Linked DNA regions of Homo sapiens: region 1 is linked to region 2. The links are contacts of gene promoters, found by promoter capture Hi-C in blood cells and fetal thymus (Javierre and others, 2016). All regions are on one chromosome and are shown on one strand. Each heading gives the region's core, a stretch centred on a gene start or on the middle of the fragment in contact. The rest is flanking DNA. Distances are from core to core; before and after follow the strand shown. Region 1 overlaps BRDT (bromodomain testis associated). Region 2 holds the start of C1orf146 (chromosome 1 open reading frame 146).

The links. Contacts are between HindIII fragments. The CHiCAGO score rates a contact against its expected background, and 5 or more counts as called.
Region 1: a contact is called between a fragment that was not itself captured here and the fragment with the promoter of C1orf146 in region 2, in 1 of 17 cell types (M1 macrophages). The highest score is 5.7, in M1 macrophages.

Annotation. Positions count from the first base shown.
Region 1 is chr1:91,997,306-92,001,939 of GRCh38, forward strand. All of the region lies in intron 15 of BRDT (bromodomain testis associated), which reads left to right. Among named protein-coding and RNA genes, the nearest start is that of EPHX4, 30 kb to the right of the region's middle. The HindIII fragment of the contact is 1,349 bases long and covers 1,939-3,287 here.
Region 2 is chr1:92,216,368-92,220,952 of GRCh38, forward strand. C1orf146 (chromosome 1 open reading frame 146) reads left to right here and starts at 1,548. Exons shown (of 6, transcript NM_001012425.2): 1 at 1,548-1,681. The HindIII fragment of the contact is 5,529 bases long and covers 1-2,406 here.

The DNA of each region.
Region 1 (4,634 bases), core at 1,363-3,862, 220 kb before region 2:
GTGAATGTAAAGCATTCTTTGAAGAACTTTGTTGGTAAAGAGGATGGAAAGATATTTGTGGCTTTAACAGGAAAATAGATTTTTTGGAGGAGTGGGCAAGATTATTTTGAGTTTTTTAATTGGAGGGATTTGAACATTTGAAGGCTCATTATAAAGAGCTAAAGTAGGAAAAAGTTACTCTTTTAACTAGAGTATGTTTTATAAGAATGCTAGGGTAGCCTTGCCCTTGAAAAGGAATAGATTATGAAAAACAAAGGTGAGAATGTAGTCAAGGTGTTCTCTTATTCCTAATTTAAGAAAACACCCTATCTATGAAAAGTCAGGCTTTTAATACCTACACCTTCAGTAAGGATCAGTTTATTATATTACTTGAAATTCTGTTTATATGATGCCTATTAGTAAGCTAATATATAAAGGAAAGTTTGGATGATGCCAGAGTAGCTGTTCTTTTGCAGTTAGCAAGATTCTCAGAAACAACATGGTTTACATTTGCCAACTGTAGGTGGCACTATGCCCAAGGGAAATTGCAAATGTATGTGAGCCATAAAATTTATAGAGACATTTTCTTTTTCTGGAGTTAAATCTCAATAGAAATAAATTTTTTGTTAAACCTTACAATTAAATGATAAAAGCAATATGTTGAAGTTTTCTTATTGGAAAAATAGTTTGACAAAATGTTAGAGTACATAAAAGATTAAAAAATGAATTTTTAAGTGTTACTGGTTTTCATCACACCTGCCCACATATGATCTCCACATGAAATGGACAATGTTGAATTTTTTTTCCTTATAAGTTGAAGCTTTTAGCCATACCCTTATCCTTATAGTTTACCCTTTCCCCTTCTCATAAAAACTTCACTAAATTGCCGCCATGAAAAGGGATGAGTTCATGTCCTTTGCAGGGACATGGATGAAGCTGGAAACCATCATCCTCAGCAAACTAATACAAGAACAGAAAACCAAACACTGCATGTTCTCACTCATAAGTGGGAGTTGAACACTGAGAGCACATGGACACAGGGAGGGGAACATCACACACTGGGGCCTGTTGGGGGATGGGGGGCTAGCAGAGGGGTAGCATTAGGAAAAATACCTAATGTAGATGACAGGTTGATGGGTACAGCAAACCACTATGGCACGTGTAACAAACCTGCACATTCTGCGCATGTATCCCAGAACTTAAAGTATAATAAAAAAATTTTTTTAAACTTCACCAAATTATATTGAGTTTTTAAAATATTTAGGCTGTTATATAAACATGAATTCATAATTGCAAATGAAAAAGTAAATCCAGGAGTTTGCTATCTCATAGGAGAAATAAACAACTGGTATATAAAGTAAAAATAATGTGCCCTGAAAGAACCTAAAGTGAAGTTTAAGGAGGTGAAGAAGGCAGAATCACCTGATGTGTTTGGCAGATACATATTTTACAGAATGAGTATCATTTGAGCTGGATAGTGCAGAAAAAAAATAAGGCTTACCTATGTTTATTTAGTATGGAAAGGCATTTGGATGGAGGAAGCAACATGAATGTGAAGGTATTTAGGCAACTCATAATTCCATGTGATTAAAGATTTGGTTGGATTAAACAGGAATGTGGAAAATTACAAAGGTAGACCAGGTTTAGATCATTTAACCCTTTAGATACTTTGGACTTAATTATAATAGCATAGTCAGTGGGGAGGCAATGAAGGTTTTTTTGAGTGAAGGTGTGCCTCTGAGTGATTAATTTGCCAATATTATTTAGGTGAGTTGAAGGAAAGGAGAATATAGAGACCAGAGAAGGGAAGGAGACCAGCTGGGCTGTTGCAGTAGTAGGGAAAAAATGACATAAAGTGATAGAAGGAAAGAGAAGGGGAAAGTTAAAAGAAATTGCAAGAGTAGAATGGGCAGGTCTGCAAAATATGAAAACATGCTGGGTTAATAACCCAGGGATATAAGCTTCGGTGGCTCACAGGATACTGGCTGGATACTGTCCAGGTTGACAGACCCGGGACACAAGATGAAGAATAGGCTTCTGAGGAAAGATGAGTTTTGTAGTCTTTTGAGGTATCACAGGGTCATTCATGTAAAAATATTTTTCAGAGAGTTGGACCCTTGACATACTTCCTAGGCTTTTATGACACCTCTCTTAACAATCCCATCTGTCTGTTCCTTACAGATATCTCTTTATTTGCCTCCCTTTAGATGTTGATAATTCTCTGAATTGCATCCTTAAGCCTCTCTGTTTTTTTCATCTACCCCAGAATTTCCCAACCATGTTTCAAAGCACAGTCTTACTGAATGAATGTCCCCTCAGCTCTTATAGCAATGAGCTGGGAGCAGCCTTTCCATTTATGCAGGTGGCCATACATTGATCATTTTCTATATATCATGACATGGAAAAGGTTGGAAGCAGTGCTCTATACTTGGGTGATCTTTGGCATCCATGACTTCTAGTCTCATTTTTACAATTCAAATGTATCCAGGCCCCAGGCATGTTTATACAACTCTACTAAATGTCTTTACTTAAACATCACATAGGCATTCCAAACACAGCCATGTAAAAACTGAATTCCCCCTTTTAGTCCTCAGATTGTATTTATTTTTTTGAGACAGTCTGCCTGTGTTGCTCAGGCTGGAGTACAGTGGCGCAAATATGGCTCACTGCAGCCTCAACCGCCTGGGCTCAAGTCATCCTCCTACCTCAGCCTCTCAAGTAGCTGGGACCACAAATGTGTGCCACCATGCCCAGCTAAGTTGTTATTTGTTTGTTTTGTTTGGTAGAGATGGGATCTCACCATGGCTGGTCTCAAACTTCTGGGCTTAAGGAATCCTCCCGCCTTGGCCTCCCAAAGTGCTGGGATTGCAGGCCTGAGCCAGTGCACCCAGTCTGGTCCCCAGATTTTAATCCTTCCTCTTTAATTGTCAATAATGGCACTATCACCACTTACCAACTTAGAGTCAGCAAATTAAGGGTCACTTTAGAATTTCACTTACCATACATACTTTTTCTCCTTCCTAAATAATCACTGACAGGAAGCAGAGAAGGGAAGGCAGTCCTATACTTACAGCTTTTCTCACTATTTTTTCCCTTTCCTTGTTGAAGTGAGGAAACATGGCTACATTGAGGCTGTGTACAGACGTACAAATTAAAAATGTGAGCTTTTGTTCTGCATTCTTTGACAGTGTTTTGTCTTGCCCTCCTATGCTCACTGCTATTCCTTGATGTTCCTTGCTCTCTTCTTCTAACCTCAACCTCAGTATGATTTAGCCAGAGAATCAGTCAAGGGATTGATGGATGGTAGAAGCTTAAATGTAAGTCCCTATAATATGTAAGTGGCCAGGATTTTGTTAGTTTGGGTTAGTTAACAAAGACAGCAGCTCAGTTTTGATTTGTCCCTCTTGTTCTTCAGCCACGAATTAGAACCTGTAGACTATGACTAGAGAGAATTGAATCAAGTGATCAATTAAGTTTCACGCATCAGGATGTTCCATGTTGCAGATGACAGAAAACTCAGCCCAAACTGATTTAATAAAGGAATTTTGTTGGCATACATAAGCAATAGTCCAAAGATAGGTCAATCTTTTAGTCATGGCTTGATAAGGGCTCACACTCTGTAGTTAATCTTCACAATAATAATAAATGAAATATTTGCATGAAAACTTAAGAATTAATGAAATTGCATAGTTTGTTCTCCTCACCTCAGAGTCAGACTTACTGCGTTTCACATCCCTGTTCCCTTGGTAGCTATTTTGAGTGTCTGGTATCTTAGTTTCCCTCTCTGTGTTTTTTTGTCTCCAATTGGCCACCCAGGCAGCATCTTTCCCTTGGAAGCCCTGCACTGGCTTAGGTCTGCTCTTCCTAAATGAGTTACTGATGGTGAGATAGAATTACCAGGATTGGCTTGGCCTTATTAAAACCCACCTCTAGGCTGGGCGCGTAATACCTGAGGATAGTTATTACATTTTAGTCATCCTTACGTTCCCAGTGCTTAGTACATAGTATGTGCTCAGTAAATGTTTAGTGATAACTGGGTTTTATCAGCAGTCTAAATTGCTTTAGATAAGTTATGCTATGGTTTTGAATGTTTGTCCTCTCCAAAACTCATGTTGAAATTTACAGGCCTGGCCAGCCACAATGGCTCATGCCTGTAATCCCAGCACTTTGGGAGGCTGAGGCGGGCAGATCACTGAAGGTCAGGAGTTCAAGTCCAGCCTGGCCAACATGGTAAAACCCCATCTCTACTAAAAATACAAAAATTAACCAGGCATGGTGGTGGGTGCCTGTAATCCCAGCTACTCAGGGGGCTAAAGCAGGGGAATTGCTTGAACCTTGGAGGTGGAGGTTGCAGTGAGCCAAGATTGCACCACTGTACTTCAGCCTAGAGCATCAAAGCAAGACCCTCTCCCCGCAAAAAAAAAAAACACACCTCTGGAGCTGAGGTCAGTCTAAACTGGAGAGCTGCTATAGCATGGGGTCAGATAAAAAGGTTTTGGTGGGTGAGTATGATGTCAGCTATATTTCATGCTGACCAGAACAAGCAAAAATAACAAAAAAAGAGCAAAGTGGTAACTTTCAAATGAGAAATATTTTATAGTATAACAAGTCCCTAACTAAGAATATTCCAAAGTTAAATGATGCATCAAAAAATT
Region 2 (4,585 bases), core at 298-2,797:
GTGGCATGATCTTGGCTCACTACAACCTCTGCCTCCCAGGTTCAAGCAATTCTCCTGCCTCAGCCTCCCAAGTAGCTGGGACTACAGGTGTGCACCACCACACCTGGCTAATTTTTTGTATTTTTAGTAGAGATGAGGTTTTGCCATATTGGCCAGGCTGATCTTGATCTCCTGACCTTGTGATTCACCTGCCTCAGCCTCCCAAAGGGCTGGGATTACAGGCGTGAGCCACCGCGACTGGCCGGTGGAGCTATATTCTTGGGTAAGCAAGAAGAGATGGGCTCTGTTGTCCATTTGAGGGCTGGCCTTACATAGGATTATACAGTTCACCTACTATAGTTGGAAAGAAAGCAGAATCTGGCATATAGATGTTGGTAGATTGGTAGGTGGACATCTGTGGAACTTCGTTTCTGGATGCTTTTATTTATCTCATTTGAATAGTATTTAATATTAAATACTAAATACTATTAAAATCATAAATCTTTATGAAATATTAGCAGTAACTATTTCACTTCAGCCGAAAATGAAGATGAGGAATAAGTTCTGGAGATTTGAAGAGAGGAGGAATTGTCTTAGTCCATTATGGCCACGATAACAAAATACCTTAGACCAGGTAATTTATAAACAAGAGGCCAGGTGTGGTGGCTTAACAAACTGCCCAAATGAGGCAGCAAGAGTGCACCTAATTTTAATATCAGTTATACAAAATGCCAAACATACAAAATGGTTATCACAGGGAAAAATTAACAGCACATCACAAGTGTGCTCCAAAGGATTTTTCCTGGAGCACCTTTCTTTCTACAGGAATACCTGTTTTACAAAGTAAGGCACATAGTTTTGTATCCTAACCATTAGGCTCAAGGCAAGTAGTGGTCTTTGTCTTTTTACATTTTTATGATTGTGACACTTAATAAATTGCTGAGCTTCAATTAGGTCTGAACATAATGGGGTCCTAAAAAGCAAACACACAGGCCCCTGTATGTCCTTTTGACAGCTGCTCATGAAAATCTACCTTTTTCATAATTTGGATAAACTGAAGGCCACTTTGATTTTATGTTGCAAATGACAGAAATCTAAGAATTGAGCCTGAATTTTAGAAAACTGTGAAAATCAATTCCGGACAACTGAGTCTAACACGCAAAAATCTTGTTTTTTTTTTTTTTTTTTTTTTGAGACGGAGTCTTGCCCTGTCACCCAGGCTGGAGTGCAGTGGTGCGATCTCGCTCACTGCAACCTCCGCCTCCTGGGTTCAAGCGATTCTCCTGCCCCAGCCTCTCGAGTAGCTGGGATTACAGGTGCGCGCCTCCATGCCCAGCTAATTTTTGCATTTTTAGTAGAGACGGGGTTTCACCATGTTGGTACGCTGGTCTCAAACTTCTGACCTCGTGATCCGCCCACCTCGGCCTCCCAAAGTGCTGGGATTAGTGGCATGAGCCACCGCGCCAGGCCTACAAATCTTGTATCTTCTTAACCACTTCCGGCTTCCTGCAAACCTCGCTCTAGGGAGCCAGAAGCGCGGAAAAGGTTTGCGGGGTCTGCGGTTGCGCAGAAGCCCAGCGACTGCAGAACCCTGCCCCAGGCACCCTGGGCGCTCTGCCCTACCGGCGGCGCCTCTCACTGCTCACGGAACGTTCTGGAAGTTTGGGAAACCCTGAGCGGTCTCTGAGGACCTGGTGAGCAGGTGGGTTTGCAGCGCTGGGGATGAGGCCTCGGCAGACCTGTCTCTTCGCGTTTTTCTTTCTTCGTTCTTCGCCGGCGTAGTGCTCTCTGACTTGCCGAGCTCAGAGCTTTACCTCAGGGCTTTGGCGGGTGAGGGGAGGAGATCCTGCCCACCCTATTTTCCCCTTGAGAATCGGTGTGGAAAGGGCTCCCTCGGGGTTTTCCCTGTCAGAAGTCCGTCACCCACCTGCGAGTGTAAATTTTATTTGCTTTAGGCTTTGTTGGTCACTCCGAAAAGTAAAGAATGGAAGAGACCGTGAAGATCCTTGTAGGCCGGCGCCTCACTGGACCCGTGAGGAGACTGAGCAGGGAAAGTGACTTGCTGGAGATGATGGGGCAGTGTTAAACTTAAATTTGCAAACACTCCAGAGCTTGGAAAAAACAAAACAGTAGCAACAAAAGCCCAGAATACCAGGGCCTTGGAACTGGCAAAGGTTTAAGAGGCCACTGGGCCCACGCTTTTTGTTTTTATTTTTAATTTAACTTTTATGTTAGGTTCAGGAGTCCGTGTGCAGGTGTGTTACATAGGTTAAACTCGTGTCACGGGAGTTTGTTGTCCAGATTCTGTCGTCCCCCAGGTGCCCATTAGTGACTGTCCCTCCTCCACCTTCTGGTCCCCCGGTCCCGTCCCCCGCGCCTGCCCCTCCCCTCTGTCCCTGCACGCTCAGCGTTCACCTCCCGTTTAGAAGCTTTTTGTTTTCAGGTGAGGATGCAGCCTAACCAGAGGTGACGTGATTTGCCCAAAGCCACACAGTCCTTGCTTGGCTGCTGGTCGAGGAGCTTTTCCCCAGAAATGCTGAGAAGGCACTGCCCCAGCCCCAGGTTTCTGATTCATTCCTCACCTTTAACAGGGACTTGGGACACGACTGACCCCACTCCTTTCTCACTTATTGTGCACGTGATTACTTTACTTCTCTTAGCTTTAGTTAAATTGTTTTTAAAACCTATGTATAAGGGTGTAAAGATTTAAATGAACATTTATGGATTACTAACTGATAGGCACAAACATACATATCCACATACATACCAGTAACTACTCCAAAAAGTTCTTGTAACCTTTGCATATATGTATTCATAGCTATGTGGGTGTATTAGTAAGTATGTGTAGGGGGGGTTATAGAAGTTGAAGCCCTTCCCCCAGCCAACTCACCATTTACTCATTCACAAATCTTTGAGTGTCTACTGAGTGCCAGGTGCTGAGTAAGGTAAAACAGAATCAGAATGTGTCCCTGCTCTCATGGAGCTAGTTAACTTCTCATTCATTCATTCATGCAATAAATGAGGAAATTAGAGAGCAGCTGGTTTCAACTCAGCAGGAAGAACTTTCTAATTATTAAAGTTGTTGAAAAGTAGAATGAAATCACCTTGGGAGATACTAACTTACCATCACTGAAAGTGACTTTCTCTTTCTTTTTTTTTTTTTTTTTTTTTTTTTAAGACAGAGTCTCGCTCTATCACCCACGCTGGAGTGCAGGAATGGGATCTCAGGTCACTGCAACCTCCACCTCCTGGGTGTGCAGCCACACCTAAGGAATGGGGAGTTATATTCCCCACCCCCACTGTTTAATATTTTTAGAGACAGGGTCTTGCTATGTTGCCCAGGCTGGAGTACAGTTGTTATTTACAGGTGCAAACATAATGCACTGCAGCCTCAAACTCTTGGCCTTAAGCAATCCTCCTGCTTCAGTCTCCCGAGTAGCTTGAATTATAGGTGTGTGCCACTGTGCCCAGCTCCATGCTCCTGTTCTTAAGGTTGGAGTATATATACATAAATTTTTTGGAATTATTCTGCACAGATTTGTCTCTTCTCCATTTATTGGTTTGTTCAAACCTTTATATCAGTATAGACTCATGGATATTCACTTTATACTTTGGATTATAATGCTATTTTATTTTGCTCAAATTGTTCCAGCTTTAGCCATTGGGAGCTCTTTCAGTTGGTTCCTGTGCTCTTATGACATGCCCCATCAATGCCATCTGTGTGGGGTTTTTTTGTTTGTTTGTTTTTGTTTTTAAGTACTTTCTTTTTGGCACTACTCTGGACTCATCTTGTATGTTTCCTGTCCCAGTCCTAGAATCGACCATTTCTCCAAGGAGCCCTGGTTCCTTTTTTGGAGAATGCTATTTAGAAACCAAAATCTGGGTGCTAGGTGTACTTGTTGCTAGCACCCAGGTGCTAGGGTGTCGTTTGTTTTAGGCCCTTTCAGCTAACAGAGTAAAGAAATAGATGTGTGTGTACTAATCTGGGTATATACACATACAGTCATGCATTGCTTAATGATGGGGATGTGTTCTGAGAAATGCATCATTAGGTGATTTTGTCATTGTGAGAACATCATAGAGTGTAATTACACAAACTTAGATGGTGTAGTCTACTAGACATCTAGGCTATATGGTATAGCCTATTGCTCCTGGGCTACAAATATGTATAGTATGTTAATGTACTGAATACTGTAGGCAACCTGCATATCTAAACATATCTAAATGTAAAAAAAGTAAAAATACAGTATTATCATCTTGTGGCACCACCAGTCATATATGAAGTCCATTGTTGACTGAACAGTTAATATGCAATGCATGACTGTATCTATAAAATATTTCTGTGTGTATTCTTCTGTATCTATATTAACAATGAGTTCATACTGTGACCGCCAATTCTAACTATGGACCATTCTAGCCTTGAGAGGTAGGATTAAAAAGAGACTTTAAACAAAAGCATGAAGAATGAAGTTTTTAAAAATGCTGTTATGAGCATTCTTGTATAAGTCTCTTAGTACAGATCACATGCATTTCTGTTGAGCATACATTTAGGAGTAGAGTTGCAGAGTTACAGGTTACGAGTATCTTCAACTTTAGTAGATAATGC